Linked DNA regions of Homo sapiens: region 2 is linked to region 1. Evidence: promoter capture Hi-C in human tissues and cell types (Jung and others, 2019). All regions are on one chromosome and are shown on one strand. Each heading gives the region's core, a stretch centred on a gene start or on the middle of the fragment in contact. The rest is flanking DNA. Distances are from core to core; before and after follow the strand shown.

Region 1 (6,637 bases), core at 3,667-6,166:
CCCTACGTGTTCCTCCTTCCCTAGGACAGCAACAAAAACACACAATTTTCCCTCTCTAGCAGGTCTCTAAGTCTCCTGATTCCTGAAACTGCCTCAGACTCCCCCTAGAGGGAGGGAGGCCCCTGAGGCTTTCTTGCCATCATAGCCTCTTCTGGGCCTCAGTTTCCCCTCTGTAACCTGATCCTAGTACTTGGATAAACTCCGACGAGGTGTGGGGGGTTGTTGTCTGTGACCTCCCTGAAATATCTTAGACATTTGGGGTACTGAGCATTTATCTGGGGTTAAATAAAATCTTTACATCTTAAGACATTCGATTGACCAAATTGAGTGTCCTGGCCATTTCACTGATGAGGAAACTGAGGCGCAGAGAGGTCCTCTTGCCAGCTCAAAGTCAAGCATCTGGGCGCCCAATGTTAGCCAGCGGCACCCCCTGGTGGCGGGCGTGGGAGACACGGCGGGGCGCGCTTGTCGGGGGTTGGGGGGTGGGTCGGAGGGGTGGCATCCTCCAGCCCTGATGGTCCCACTTACCGCACCTCGCCGGGAAGAGCTCGTCCTGCTGGTCGGGCCTCCGAGCGGACTGGGCAGCACCATGCTCAAGCCTAGGGTTCGATCCCCGCCTCCGGAAGCCTCAGTATCCATCCCTCCCCTCTGCCTCCCTCTTCGCGTGCCTGAATATTTATACAAGATACAGGCGTCATCACAGCCGCCCTCGGCTTCCAGAGCAGCTGGCTTCGTTCATAAATATTATAACCACTCAGAATTCATCATCATCACAGTTAATGATAAAATTCCACAGTGCCAGAACTAAAAGTCATCCGGGTTCACGAACTTGGTGCATTTCCTTCCAGACTTTTAAAAAGAAGATATTTAGGGAATTTTTTTTTCAAGATTTTTCCCCCCAGTCCGCTTACAAAGTAATACCATGTTCGCTGTAAAAAATTTGGAAATAATGGAAATGTATAAAGAAGGAAATAAAATTCTGCTGTATCTCCACCCATGGATTATCTGCAGTATTTTGACTTATTTCCCTCTAGTTTTTCTCCATCTGTTATAAGATATTCATATTTTTGGCTGGGCGCGGTGGCTCACGCCTGTAATCCCAGCACTTTGGGAGGCCGAGGCGGGCGGATCACGAGGTCAGGAGATCGAGACCGTCCTGGCTAACAGTGAAACCCCGTCTCTACTAAAAATACAAAAAATTAGCCGGGCGTGGTTGCAGGCGCCTGTAGTCCCAGCTACTCGGGAGGCTGAGGCAGGAGAATGGCCTGAACCCGGGAGGCGGAGCTTGCAGTGAGCCAAGATCGAGCCACTGCACTCTAGCCTGGGTGACAGAGCGAGACTGTCTCAAAAAAAAAAAAAAAATTCATATTTTTTTCTTTCTTTTCTTTTCTTTCTTTCTCTGTCTTTCTTTTCTTTCCTTTTCCCTTTCTCTTTCTTTCTTTCTTTGCGTCTCGCCTTGTCGCCCAGGCGGGAGTGCAATGGTGTGATCTTGGCTAACTGCAACCTCCGCCTCCTGGGTTCAAACGATTCTCCTGCCTCAGTCTCCTGAGTAGCTGGGATTACAGGTGCCCACCACCATGCCCAGCTAATTTTTGTATTTTTAGTAGAGACTGGGTTTTCACCATGTTGGCCAGGCTGGTCTTGAACTCCTGACCTCATGATCCGCCTGCCTCGGCCTCCCAAAGTGCTGGGATTACAGGCATGAGCCACTGCACCCAGCCCTAGAATATTCATATTTCTTATAAATGAATATTCATATGTTCTCCTTCAGTTTGAGCCAAAGGCATTTGTCCCTCTCCTCTTACTGACTGCATCTGCTCTGGCCACACTGCAAGCCTGGTCCCACCACAGGGCCTTCAAACAAGCTGTTCCCACTACCTGGAATGCTTCTCTCTCAGCCCCCAGCCTCACCCATTAGATTTTTGTTTTTATTTTTGTTTTAGACAAAGTTTCGCTCTTGTTGCCCAGGCTGGAGGACAATGGCGTGATCTTGGCTCACTGCAACCTCTGCCTCCCGGGTTCAAGCGATTCTCCTGCCTCAGCCTCCCAAGTAGCAGGGATTACAGGCGACCGCCACCATGCCCGGCTAATATTTAGTAGAAATGGGGTTTCACCATGTTGACCACGCTGGTCTTGAACTTCTGACCTCAGGTGATCCACCCACCTCGGCCTCCCAAAGTGCTGGGATTACAGGCATGAGCCACCACACCTGGCCCCCACACTGGGTTTTAAGTTAGTGTCTTCTTCCCCGAGAAGTCGTCCCTGGACCCGTATCTGGGATACTTTTTTTTTTTTTTCTTGAGACAGAGTCTCCCTCTAGCACCTAGGCTGGCGTGCAGTGGTGCCGGTGATCTCAGCTCACTGCAACCTCCGCCTCCCTGGTTCATGCGATTCTCATGCCTGGGCCTCCTGAGCAGCCTCCTGGGACAGGCACCACCACACCGGGCTAATTTTTGTATTTTTAGCAGAGATGGGGTTTCACCATGTTGGCCAGGCTGGTCTCGAACTCCTGACCTCAAGGTCAAGGAGTGATCCTCCTGACTCGGCCTCCCAAAGTGCTGGTATTACAGGCATAAACCACCGCACCTGGCCACATTTTTATTTTTATTTGTCTAGTGTAGACGATAGGGTAGGGATGCAGGGAAGCCTCTGGACTTTCCTCTGAGTGGGACCGGCCTGGAAGCCTAGCCCGTTCTCCCACCAGCTCTGTCTCCCCTGACACAAAGAAAATACCCCAATCCCGCAGCCCCTCCCCCAGCTCAACCATTTCTAATTCCAGAGCCCAATGCTGCTCTGGACAATCAAGGGCTTGCATTCTTTTTAAATTTAAATTAAGTAATTAATTTTTTGAGACAGCGTCTCACTCTGTCGTCCAGGCTGGAGTGTAGTGGCGCGATACGGTTTCCTACAGCCTCGACCTCCTGAGCTCAAGTGATCCTCCTACTTCAGCCTCGGGAGTATTTGGGTCCACAAGCACGCGACACCACATCCAGCTAATTTTTAAATTTTTTGTAGAGATGGGGCCTCCCTATGTTACTCAGGCTGGTTTCCAATTCCTGGGCTCAAGCGATCCTCCCGCCTTGGTCTCCCAAAGTGGTGGGATTACAGGCGTAAGCCTCCGCACCCGGCTATTTTTACTTTAAAATACTAAGTCAGTGACGGAAGCTTCCGCACATTCTCGTGGCTCACTTTTCTCTTCCTGGGGAAAAAAGGCAGGAGGTATTTCCGAGAGAGCCACCCATGTAGGAAGCGTGCCTTTGGGCGATCAGGGAGCTGAGCAACCGAAAAACCTCCCCTCCAAGGAGGCGGCAGGCCAGGGCCTGGACCAGCTGCCCTGGAGCCCCCCACAGAGCACGGACTACCGCGTGGGCGCGGAGGGCAGGGAGAATGGGAGGTGGATTTCTTTTTATTTTTTGTTTTTCTGAATTTTCCCAATTTCTCTGCAGTGGATTGGTGATACTTCTATAGTCCGAGTGGGGGAGGAGGGAGCAAACATGTTACCCTAAAAAGAAAAAATAAATTTCCCAAATGTAAACGGTGCGGGGACGTGGGGGTGGGCGTCCCAGTACTCCCAGGGCACTGGGGGCGGGCTGGGGACTGGGTTGGCGGCGGCTGGGCCTCGAGGCGCTAAGTTATTCTGGTCTCTCGGCGCCTCCGCAGCTGGCGAGCTTTTTATAAACAGGACGAGTCACCCCCCGCCACACACACACGCTCCAGCCCCGCCTACTGGGAGGGGTGGGGGGAGAATCTAGGGGATCAGGACTCTCCTGGGGGCCACACACCCCTGGAGGGTTTGAAAGCTGGAGTAGGGGGAGCAGGAGACCCAAAGTGGGGGCTGGGGTTTCGGGCTCCTCCTCCCTCCCCAAATTCTGACTTCCTTCCCTAAAGATTTGGAGGAATAAAAGATGGACCATCTTAGCTCCCAAAAGGCTCCATCCTCTGAGTTTTGCTTTCCCAGGATGGAGGGAGGGGGTCTCCCAGCCCCCGGGTCTTTGAATCCGAGCTTTGAAGAGCTGGAGGCTTCGGCTCGTGCCCTCCCTGTTTCCCGGGGCATTTACCGCAGGCTTTAAGGGGTTTCCGGGACAGGTCGCTTCTCTGTCCCTGCTAAACCTTTTCTTCGAATTTTCTTCTTGATGACGGGGCGCAGGGAGGGGAGGGGGTTCCCAGAGAGTCCATCAGCCCCTTCCTCCTTTTCTGGGAATGGTGGGGAGGGGAGGCTCTCTTGACCTCTACTTCTTTCTTTTCAAACCTCAGAAACGGGGGAGGGGTGGAGTCTTTACTAGCCCCTCCCTCAGTGGGGGGGTCTTACGCCTCGGGAATGGGACAGGGGTCCCTCTTGACTCCTGTTTATTCTTTGGTATTTATTTTGAACCCCATATATGTGAGGGTATAAAACATCTCTTGGGCCTCGATTTTTCTTTTCTGCAATTGGGAGTCAGGGGCATTTAACAGGGGTCACAGCACCTTGGACTAGACGGTGGCCTCAAGAGTCCCCTACCTGGGGTGGGTGCGGGCGGGTAAGGGAACCGCCCCTCGAAGACCGGGGCTCAGCCAAGGCCTCAGCCTCTCGGCCCTTCAATCTCCCAGATGCCACCATTGGACAAGAGGAGGGCGTAGACAATCTCTGATTGGCTACTTCGCCCGTCGCTCGAGAGCTTAAGCCAGTGAGAGAACGCTGAGGGGCCCCGCCTCCCCGAGGCGGACAGGAGGCGGACGAGAGGCGGAGTCGGCCCCCGCGCCGCTCCCGCCCCTACTGGATGCACACGCTAGGCCCCGCCCCATTTGCACGTCAATCTGCTCAGGAGCCCTGCCCCATCTGGCTCTGCGTGCGTCAATGGGCCACATCTCTACGCGCGGCTCCGCCTCCGGATGGCGTCACGGACTTATCTACATGTGAGGCTCCGCCCCTCCCTTTGCAGGACGTCACGGAGGACTGCAGGGGCCTGAGCCGCTGCTGCCGCCGCCGCCGCGCAGCCCCACATCAACGCACCGGGGTCCTGTCACCGCCACCGCCAAAAAAGTCACCGCCGCTAGGGTCGCCGTTGCATCGGTGCAGGGCAAGGTGAGCTCCTGGGCGGCCGGGTGTGCTCAGGCTCCGAGCACCTGCATAACCTTCATTTGACTGATGGGCTGATGGAGGTGGGGGACGAGGTTGACTAGGGTTGAATGGGGGGAAGGATGCGGCGGTCGCGAGGCTGGGAATGGGTAGGGCCCGGGCGCCCCACTCCTGCCTGATCCTCACCACTAACCCCCCCAACCCCCCTGCTCTGCGGCGGAGGGGGAGGGGAGCCGAGCTCCTTGCGGGAAGCTGTGCGCGCGGGAGGCTTTTGCGTGCGCGTGCGCGTGGTGTGCACACGCGTGTGCGCGCCTGCCTGTGTCAGCGGGTCTGTGTGCACCCTTGCTTGTGTACCTGGATATGCTCGTGTGACGCCGTGGGGGTCTGGGCCTAAGTGTGTGAGCGTTGCACGCGCGTGGAGAAAGACGTGTGGACCGCCTGTGCAGGTATGGCCCGTGCATACAAGCACGGGGATCCGTGTCCGTGTGGGTGATGTGCACACGCCTGCATGGGTGGAGGGGCCTGTGCGCACGGGTGGTTTGCACATTTCTATAGGCGAGTCGGTGTGCAAACAGGTGTCTGTGTCTTTGTCCTGTGCACCTCAGTGCGTTCACACACTCCTGTATGTACGGATGAGCGTGTTTGAGGCTGTGTGCACGTGAGCGTGTGCATGCCCCTCCTGTATCATGTGATGCAGCGGCCTTGGCCGGAGCTCTCCGGCCTGGAGGTTTGCGGGGAGCGGGGGCTGCAGATGCGCGTCCTCGAGGGACCATGCACGCGGTGCACGTGGGGCCGCGCGGCCGGGTTCTGAGGACCATGAAAGATTGATGGGGGGCGGAGCCAGCCGCAGTCACCCCCTCCGGGCTCAGCCCTGGGTTTAGGGTTACAGCCCCACCTGGGGCACCTGCCCCTTGAAGGGGGCTGCTGGGGTGTCCCCATCGGCAACCCTCTGAGCCCCTCCTCTGAAACGCCCAGGATTTCAAGGTCACAGGCTGCCCTCTGCTGGGGGCACCACCAATTAATACTGGGGCTCCTGATGGGATAAGGGTGTCCTCCATACACCGGCCGTTTTCTGGAGCCCTTGCCATCTTCTGCCTGGGCTTGGGCACATGAGGATGGAGAGAGCCCCCCTCACGGCTCTGCTACACCCGGTATCCCCAGATGGCATCCGCCACAGACTCGCGCTATGGGCAGAAGGAGTCCTCGGATCAGAACTTCGACTACATGTTCAAGATTCTCATCATCGGCAACAGCAGCGTGGGCAAGACGTCCTTCCTCTTCCGCTATGCTGACGACTCGTTCACGCCTGCCTTCGTCAGCACCGTGGGCATCGACTTCAAGGTCAAGACCATCTATCGCAACGACAAGAGGATCAAGCTGCAGATCTGGGTGGGTCCCAGCTGGAGGGCTCCCGCCCGGCTCGGTTGGATTCCCGTACTTGGAAAAGCAGCCCCAACCTCGTCTATCTCTTTCCTGACTGGAGTCATTCACTTACACACTGGGCATTTATCAGTAAGGTGCCCACTGTGTACCGGGGCAGAAACAGCACCTGTGTTCTCCCATAAGCACCTAATCCTGGTC
Region 2 (6,352 bases), core at 820-3,319, 650 kb after region 1:
AGGCAGGAGAATCACTTGAGCCCAGGAGGGGGAAGTTGCAGTGAGCTAGGATTGCACCACTGCACTCCCGCCTGGGCGACAGATGTAAAACCCTGTATCAAAAAAAAAAGTATATCTCAGCAGGGCGCTGTGGCTCATGCCTGTAATCCCAGCACTTAGGGAGGCCGAGGCAGGCAGATCATGAGGTCAGGAGATCAACACAAGCCTGGCCACAATGGTGAAACCCTGACTCTATTAAAAATACAAAAATTAGCCAGGCATGGTGGTGCGCACCTGTAATCCCAAGCTACTCGGGAGGCTGAGGCAGGAGAATCACTTGAACCCGGAGGCGGAGGTTGCAATGAGCTGAGATCGTGTCACTGTACTCCAGCCTGGGCGACAGAGCAAGATTCCGTCTGAGAGAAAAAAAAAAGTATATCTCAAAGTATATCTCATAAATCCCTTACCCTGCCTTCATCTTCTCCTGTGAGCCACACCACTTCAGTGGGCTGCAGTCAATTATTCATTCAACAAACATTTGTTAAGTACCAATTGTGTATTTGGATTATCCAGACTGAGAAATCAGGTGGAAGGAAAAGCGACATTTGGGAGTTTAGTTTGACCGTAGTGCCAAAAGCTAATTCTGCCCAATAAATTAAGTTGACAATAACACCAGCAATGACAGTAATCATGATAATAAAATCACTGAGAGCCAAGCCCATGCCAGACCCAAGGGCTCCACATCCATTAACTGGATAATCTTCAGAGACAAACCCAAAAAGAGAATTATATTAATACGCTCATTTTCTTTTCTTTTTCTTTTTTTAGAGGCAGGTCTTACTCTGTAGCCCAGGCTGGAGTGCAGTGGTGCAATCATAGGTCACTGCAGCCTCGAACTCCTGGGCTCAAGCGATTCTCCTGCGTCAGCCTCCTGAATAGCTGGGACTACAGGCACACACCACCGCACCTGGCTAATTTTTGTATTTTTTTTCTAGAGACGGGGTTTTGCCATGTTGGCAAGGCTGGTGTCGAACTCCTGAGCTCAAGTGACCCGCTTACCTTGGCCTCCCAAATTGCTAGGATTACTGCGTGAGCCACTGCACCCGGACCCATTTTCCATTTGAGAAAACTGAGGCAGGGAGTGAGAAGTCACCAGTCAAAGGTTTCTTCAGAGCTCTGCCCCATTCCCTACCAAGAAAGCATCCACTTCCTCCTGGGCCATCTGGTCCTGGACTCCACCCACGCCGGTCTGAGGGCAGGGGTTTGACTGGGGCCTGGAGCCAGGCTGAGTTCAAGCTTAAGGGCAGCAGCCGGCACAGAAAGGCTTGCTGTTAGATGTGGCCTCTGGCAACGCCCCAGTGGGGGCTCTGGGCTCCGTCCTTTGGAGGTGTACGTGCCCCAGAGGGAGTTAGAGCCCCAGTTAGTGAGGCCGGAGCTGCCCTAGTAGGGTCCAGCAGGCAGAAGCGGTGCCCAGCCCACCCCAAAGGAGCCAGCAGGAGGAACTCGGTCCCGCTTGTGTTGTGGGGAGGGCTGTGTCTGGCCCCATGGGAGGACAGCAGGCAGGGGGCACGCGTGGACCCGTCCCGATGGGGGCAGCGGGCAGGGGCATGCGTAGAACCGTCCCGATGGGGGTAGCGAGCAGGAAGCACGCGCGGACCCGCCCAGAAGAGGACAGCGGGCAGGGGCTCGCGTGGACCCACCCCTATGGGGACAGCAAGCAGGGGCTCGCGTGACCCGCCTGATGGGGACAGCGGGCTCGACTCACCATAGCGCCGTGCGCTCCCGCGGGTGCCGCAGCCGCTCGAGTGCGCCCAGCGTGGTGGGCAACGCGTGGGCCGCGTTTCGCGCCAACAGCGCGATGAGCACGCGCGGCGCCTGCAGGGGCGACTCCGGGCTCCAGCGCTCCTCGGGGAAGTAGGCGTCGGCGCCCGGCGGGGCCCCCGGCGGCAGTGGCGCCAGCAGCAGAAGCAGCAGCGCCAGGAGCGGCTGCCCGCGCCGCCGGCCCGCGCGTGGGGCCGCCGCCATCGCGCCACGCGTCTCCTTTAAGTCGTTTTTCTGCGGGAGGACTCTGGCCGCGCCTTAAAGGGGTCATAGGGGCCCCGCCCGGCCGCGCGCCTTAAAGGGGAGGAGCGCGCCGGGCGTGAAGTCCAGGCCCCGCCTCCAGACGCTCTCCGAGTCCCAAGGCCCGGAGTGACGTCACCTGCAGCCCTACCCAGGACGCCCCGCCCCCGCACCGATCTTAAAGGCACATAGCGCTCGGAGCGCGTGGAAGGGATGTTAGGGGTAGCGTTAGGGTTAGGAACCCGCGCTTCCTCCAGGCGCCTCCTACCACTGAGACCTCCGCCAGATGCGCCGCCCAATTTCCCCATGTATAAAACCCGGGCTGTGCCACCAGGCGGACTTGGCTACTTAGGACCTGGTTTGGGACCCAAGAGACCTTAGCCTCAGTTTCCTCTGCTGCAACGTGGGTTTTGCCATCCTGGTTTTGGATCTCACAGGGATGTCATTGAGGGTTGTGGAGAATAAAGGTCATGACGTCCACAGACCTGGCGTCACATTCAGTCCCCGCCTTGGGCTTGCTATATGTGAGCCTCAGTCTGTCCATCTATAAAATGAGATCATAGAGACCCTATAGGGTTGGCGTGAAAATAGAGCCAGGGCATGATAATGGACCGTTCTGGGCACAAGCTCTTCCAGAGACAAGGGCCATGTTTTCATGGAAACGCTGTCAAGGGATTGTTTTCCAATACTCTAGAGCCGCATTTTCAAATTGATTGACTTAGTATCACACTTTTTTTTTTTTTTTTTTGAGACGGAGTCTGGCTTTGTTGCCCGGGCTGGAGTGCAGTGGTGCAACATAGCAAGACCGTGCCTCTATTTTTAAAAACAATAAAAACTTTAAAAAATACATCTGAACATTATTATTATTATTATTATTATTTTCTTTTTTTTTTTTTTTGAGACAGCGTCTCACTCCATTGCCCCGGCTAGAGTACAGTGGCGCGATCTCGGCTCACTGCAACCTCCGCCTCCCGGGTTCAAGCGATTCTCCTGCTTCAGCCTCCTGAGTAGCTGGGACTACAGGCACGCGCCACCACGCCCGGCTAATTTTTGTTTATAGTAGAGATGGGGTTTCACCATATTGGCCAGGCTGGTCTCGAACTCCTGACCTCCTGATCCGCCCACCTCAGCCTCCCAAAGTGCTGGGATTACAGGCGTGAGCCACCGCGCCCAGCTTATTATTATTTTCACAGAGAGGGTCTTACTCTGTGGCTCAGGCTAGAGTGCAGTGGCATGATCACATGATCATGGCTCACTGCAGCCTCAACCTCCTGGGCTCAACTGATCCTCCTGCCTCAGCCTCCCAAGTAGCTGGGACTACAAGTGCACTCAACCACGCCCAGCTAATTTTTAAATTTTTTGTAGAGATGGAGTCTCGCTATGTTGCCCCGGCTGTTCTCAAACTCCTGGTCTCAAGTAATCCTCCCCCTTCAGCCTCCCAAACTGCTGGGATTACCAGTGAGCCATCATGCCCCGCTAAAACTTAATTTTTAAGAATGATACAGGCCAGGTGCAGTGGCTCACGCCTGTAATCCCAGCATTTTGGGAGGCTGAGGCAGGCGGATCACTTGAGGTCAGGAGTTCGAGACCAGCTTGGTCAATATGGTGAAGCCCCCATCTCTTCTAAAAACACAAAAAATTAGCCGGTCATGGTGGCGCTTCGCCTGTAATCCCAGCTACTACGGAGGCCGAGGCAGGAGAATCACTTGAACCCAGGAGGTGGAGGTTGCAGTGAGCCAAAATCGCACCACTGCATTCCAGCCTGGGTGACAGAGTGAGACACCGTCTCAAAAAAAAAAAAAAAAAGGTAAAAACAAATTTACACTCTGTGGACTTGATGAGGAAAGGTCTTTTCATATTAAGTAAGAAAAAGGAGGTGACAAGATACATCCCATCCCATCTGGAAGGATTTAGACCCAAGGGCAAACAATGTTTTTCTCAAAAGGGGCAGGATGACAAATTCTTGTAGCTGCAATTGTTCCAGAATTAACATCTACATCCCGTCCGGGGTAAAAGGAAGACAGCTAAAGAAGCCTATGAAGTGCAAATGTATTGAGCAAATGTATTTCGGAAGGTGGGGTTGGAGGGAAATAGGTGGAAAGGTCAGGAATATCTCATTGTCTTGGGGTAGGCCGAAAACTCCAGACAGAATGGGAGGAAACGGTCTCCAGGGAGTGTGAAAGTCCCTCTGCAAGCTGAACCAAGAACACACGGGAATCCCTGTGGAACCCACTCCGGAAGCAGCTGCAAGACAGCAGAGAAGCTGCCAATATCCAGTTAGCAGATGACTTTGCTGGCAAGCAGAGGAAGTCGGTAAAAGCTTGTCTCCCAGCCAGGAAACTTGACACCAAGTTAAGATTTGGAGCTAGGAAACAAACCCAAAAGGCTCACAGCAAGCGGAGAAAAAAACCCCAAAATCTGTAACCTGTATCACAAAGCGTTCATATCCTTCAGATATAAAGAGTTATTAGATATCAATAAGAAAAATGCAAACACTCCTGAAAAGTAGAAAAAAGCTATGAACAGGCAATTCACTGAAATTAAAAAAAAAAAAACTACAAACATGTAAATGGCTAATCAACATATTTGGATTTTGTTTTTTGAGACAGGGTCTCACTCCCATCACCCAGGCTGGAGTGCAGTGGTGCAATCACCACTCACTGCAGCCTTGAGTTCCCAGGCTCAGGTAAATCTCCCATCTCAGCCCAGCTTCTTTTAAATTTTATTTATTTATTTATTTATTTATTTATTTATTTATTTATTTTATTTTTTAGTAGAGACAGGTTTCACCACATTGCCCAAGCTGGCCTCAAAACTCCTTGGCTCAAGCAATCCACCTGTCTCAGCCTCCCAAAGTGCTGGGATGACAGGCGTGAGCCACCACTCCCGGCCGCTAATTTTGTATTTTTTGTAGAGATGAGGTCTCACTATGTTCGCCAGGCTGGTCTTGAACTCCTGAGCTCAAGTGATCTGCCCGCCTCAGCCTCCCAAAGTGCTGGGATTACAGGTGTGCACTGCCACGCCTGGCCATAATAAACTTATTTGTAAGTTCAATTTAGTCAAAGAAATTCAAAATAAAATCATGAGATTTCTGTGTGTGTCTAACTGGCATAGCTTTTTTCTTTTCATGAAAAGTCCTAGTGTTTAGAAAGGATTTGGAGGCTGGACATAGTGGATCACTCCTATAATCCTAGCACTTTGGGAGGCCAAGGCAGGAGGATTGCTTGAGTCCAGGAGTTTGAGATCAGCCTGGGCAGCATAGCGAGACCTTGTCTCTATTATTTAAAAAAAAAAAATTAGGCCACGTGTGGTGGCTCACACCTGTAATCCCAGCACTTTGGGAGGCTGAGGGGGGCAGATCACTTAAGGACAGGAGTTCGAGACCAGCCTGGCCAACATGGTGAAACCCCATCTCTACTAAAAACACAAAAATTAACCAGGCATGGTGGCGGGTGCCTGAAATCTCAGCTACTCGGGAGGCTGAGGCAGGAGAATCGCTTGAACCCGGGAGGCGGAGGTTGCAGTGAGCCGAGATCCTGCCACTGCACTCCAGCCCGGGTGACAGAGCAAGACTCAGTCTCAAAAAAAAAAAAAAAATTAAAATAAAGAAAGCCTTGGGGAAAATACACAAATAAATGCTGCTGCTTGGAGTATAAAATGGTACAGTTTTCTGAAGTTGCAGGGGTTACAAAAGCCTAAAGATGGCACATCCGTTTTGGCCCAGAAATTCCACTTGTAGACATTTATCCAATAGAAACAAGATAGATGTGGGTGAAGATTCAGCTCCGGAATGTTCCTGGAGAAGGCGGTGGGCAGAGTGGCTGGATCTGGGCACCAGAGTCTGGCTGCCTGGGACAAGCCCCTCCTTCCCGCTCAGCCTCAGTTTCCTCATCTGTATAATGGAAAATATACGGACGTCAAAAATCAGATGTGTCAGATGCCTGGCATGTAATAAGTGCTTAAAAAATCAGAGTTAATAGAGATGTTGGCTGGGCGCAATGGCTCATGCCTGTAATCCCAGCACTCTGGGAGACCAAGGATCAGGAGTTCAAGACCAGCTTGGCCAACATGGTGAAACCTCATCTTTACTAAAAATACAAAAATTAGCTGGGCATGGTGGTGGGCGCCTGTAATCCCAGCTACTCGGGAGGCTGAGGCATGAGAATCGCTTGAACCCGAGAGGCAGAGGTTGCAGTTAGCCGAGATCGCGCCATTGCACTCCAGCCCGGGTGACAAGAGCGAAACTCCATCTCAAAAAATAAAAATAAAAAAAAAGAAATGTAGGCCGGGTGCAGTGGCTCACGCTTGTAAT

What was found. The method cuts DNA at HindIII sites, captures the fragments that hold promoters and counts their contacts. A contact is called where the count stands out against the background at its distance.
Region 2: a contact is called between the fragment with the promoter of COLGALT1 here and the fragment with the promoter of RAB3A in region 1, in 1 of the 25 tissues and cell types used here (spleen).

The regions. Positions count from the first base shown.
Region 1 is chr19:18,202,321-18,208,957 of GRCh38, reverse strand. RAB3A (RAB3A, member RAS oncogene family) reads left to right here and starts at 4,916. Exons shown (of 5, transcript NM_002866.5): 1 at 4,916-5,062; 2 at 6,218-6,445. The coding sequence starts at 6,218. It overlaps LOC102725254 (a long non-coding RNA gene), which reads right to left and starts at 4,228. Exons shown (of 2, transcript NR_134910.1): 1 at 4,059-4,228; 2 at 3,395-3,502. It overlaps PDE4C (phosphodiesterase 4C), which reads left to right. Exons shown (of 15, transcript NM_001098818.4): 15 at 1-993. RefSeq lists silencers at 3,565-3,624, 4,510-4,899 and enhancers at 4,280-4,379, 4,565-4,859, 4,892-5,674. The HindIII fragment of the contact is 10,728 bases long and covers 866-6,637 here.
Region 2 is chr19:17,551,366-17,557,717 of GRCh38, reverse strand. It overlaps COLGALT1 (collagen beta(1-O)galactosyltransferase 1), which reads right to left and starts at 2,069. Exons shown (of 12, transcript NM_024656.4): 1 at 1,745-2,069. The coding sequence starts at 2,004. NIBAN3 (niban apoptosis regulator 3) reads right to left here. Exons shown (of 15, transcript NM_001321827.2): 15 at 4,078-5,932. The coding sequence ends at 5,820. RefSeq lists a silencer at 1,902-1,991. The HindIII fragment of the contact is 12,267 bases long and covers 1-6,352 here.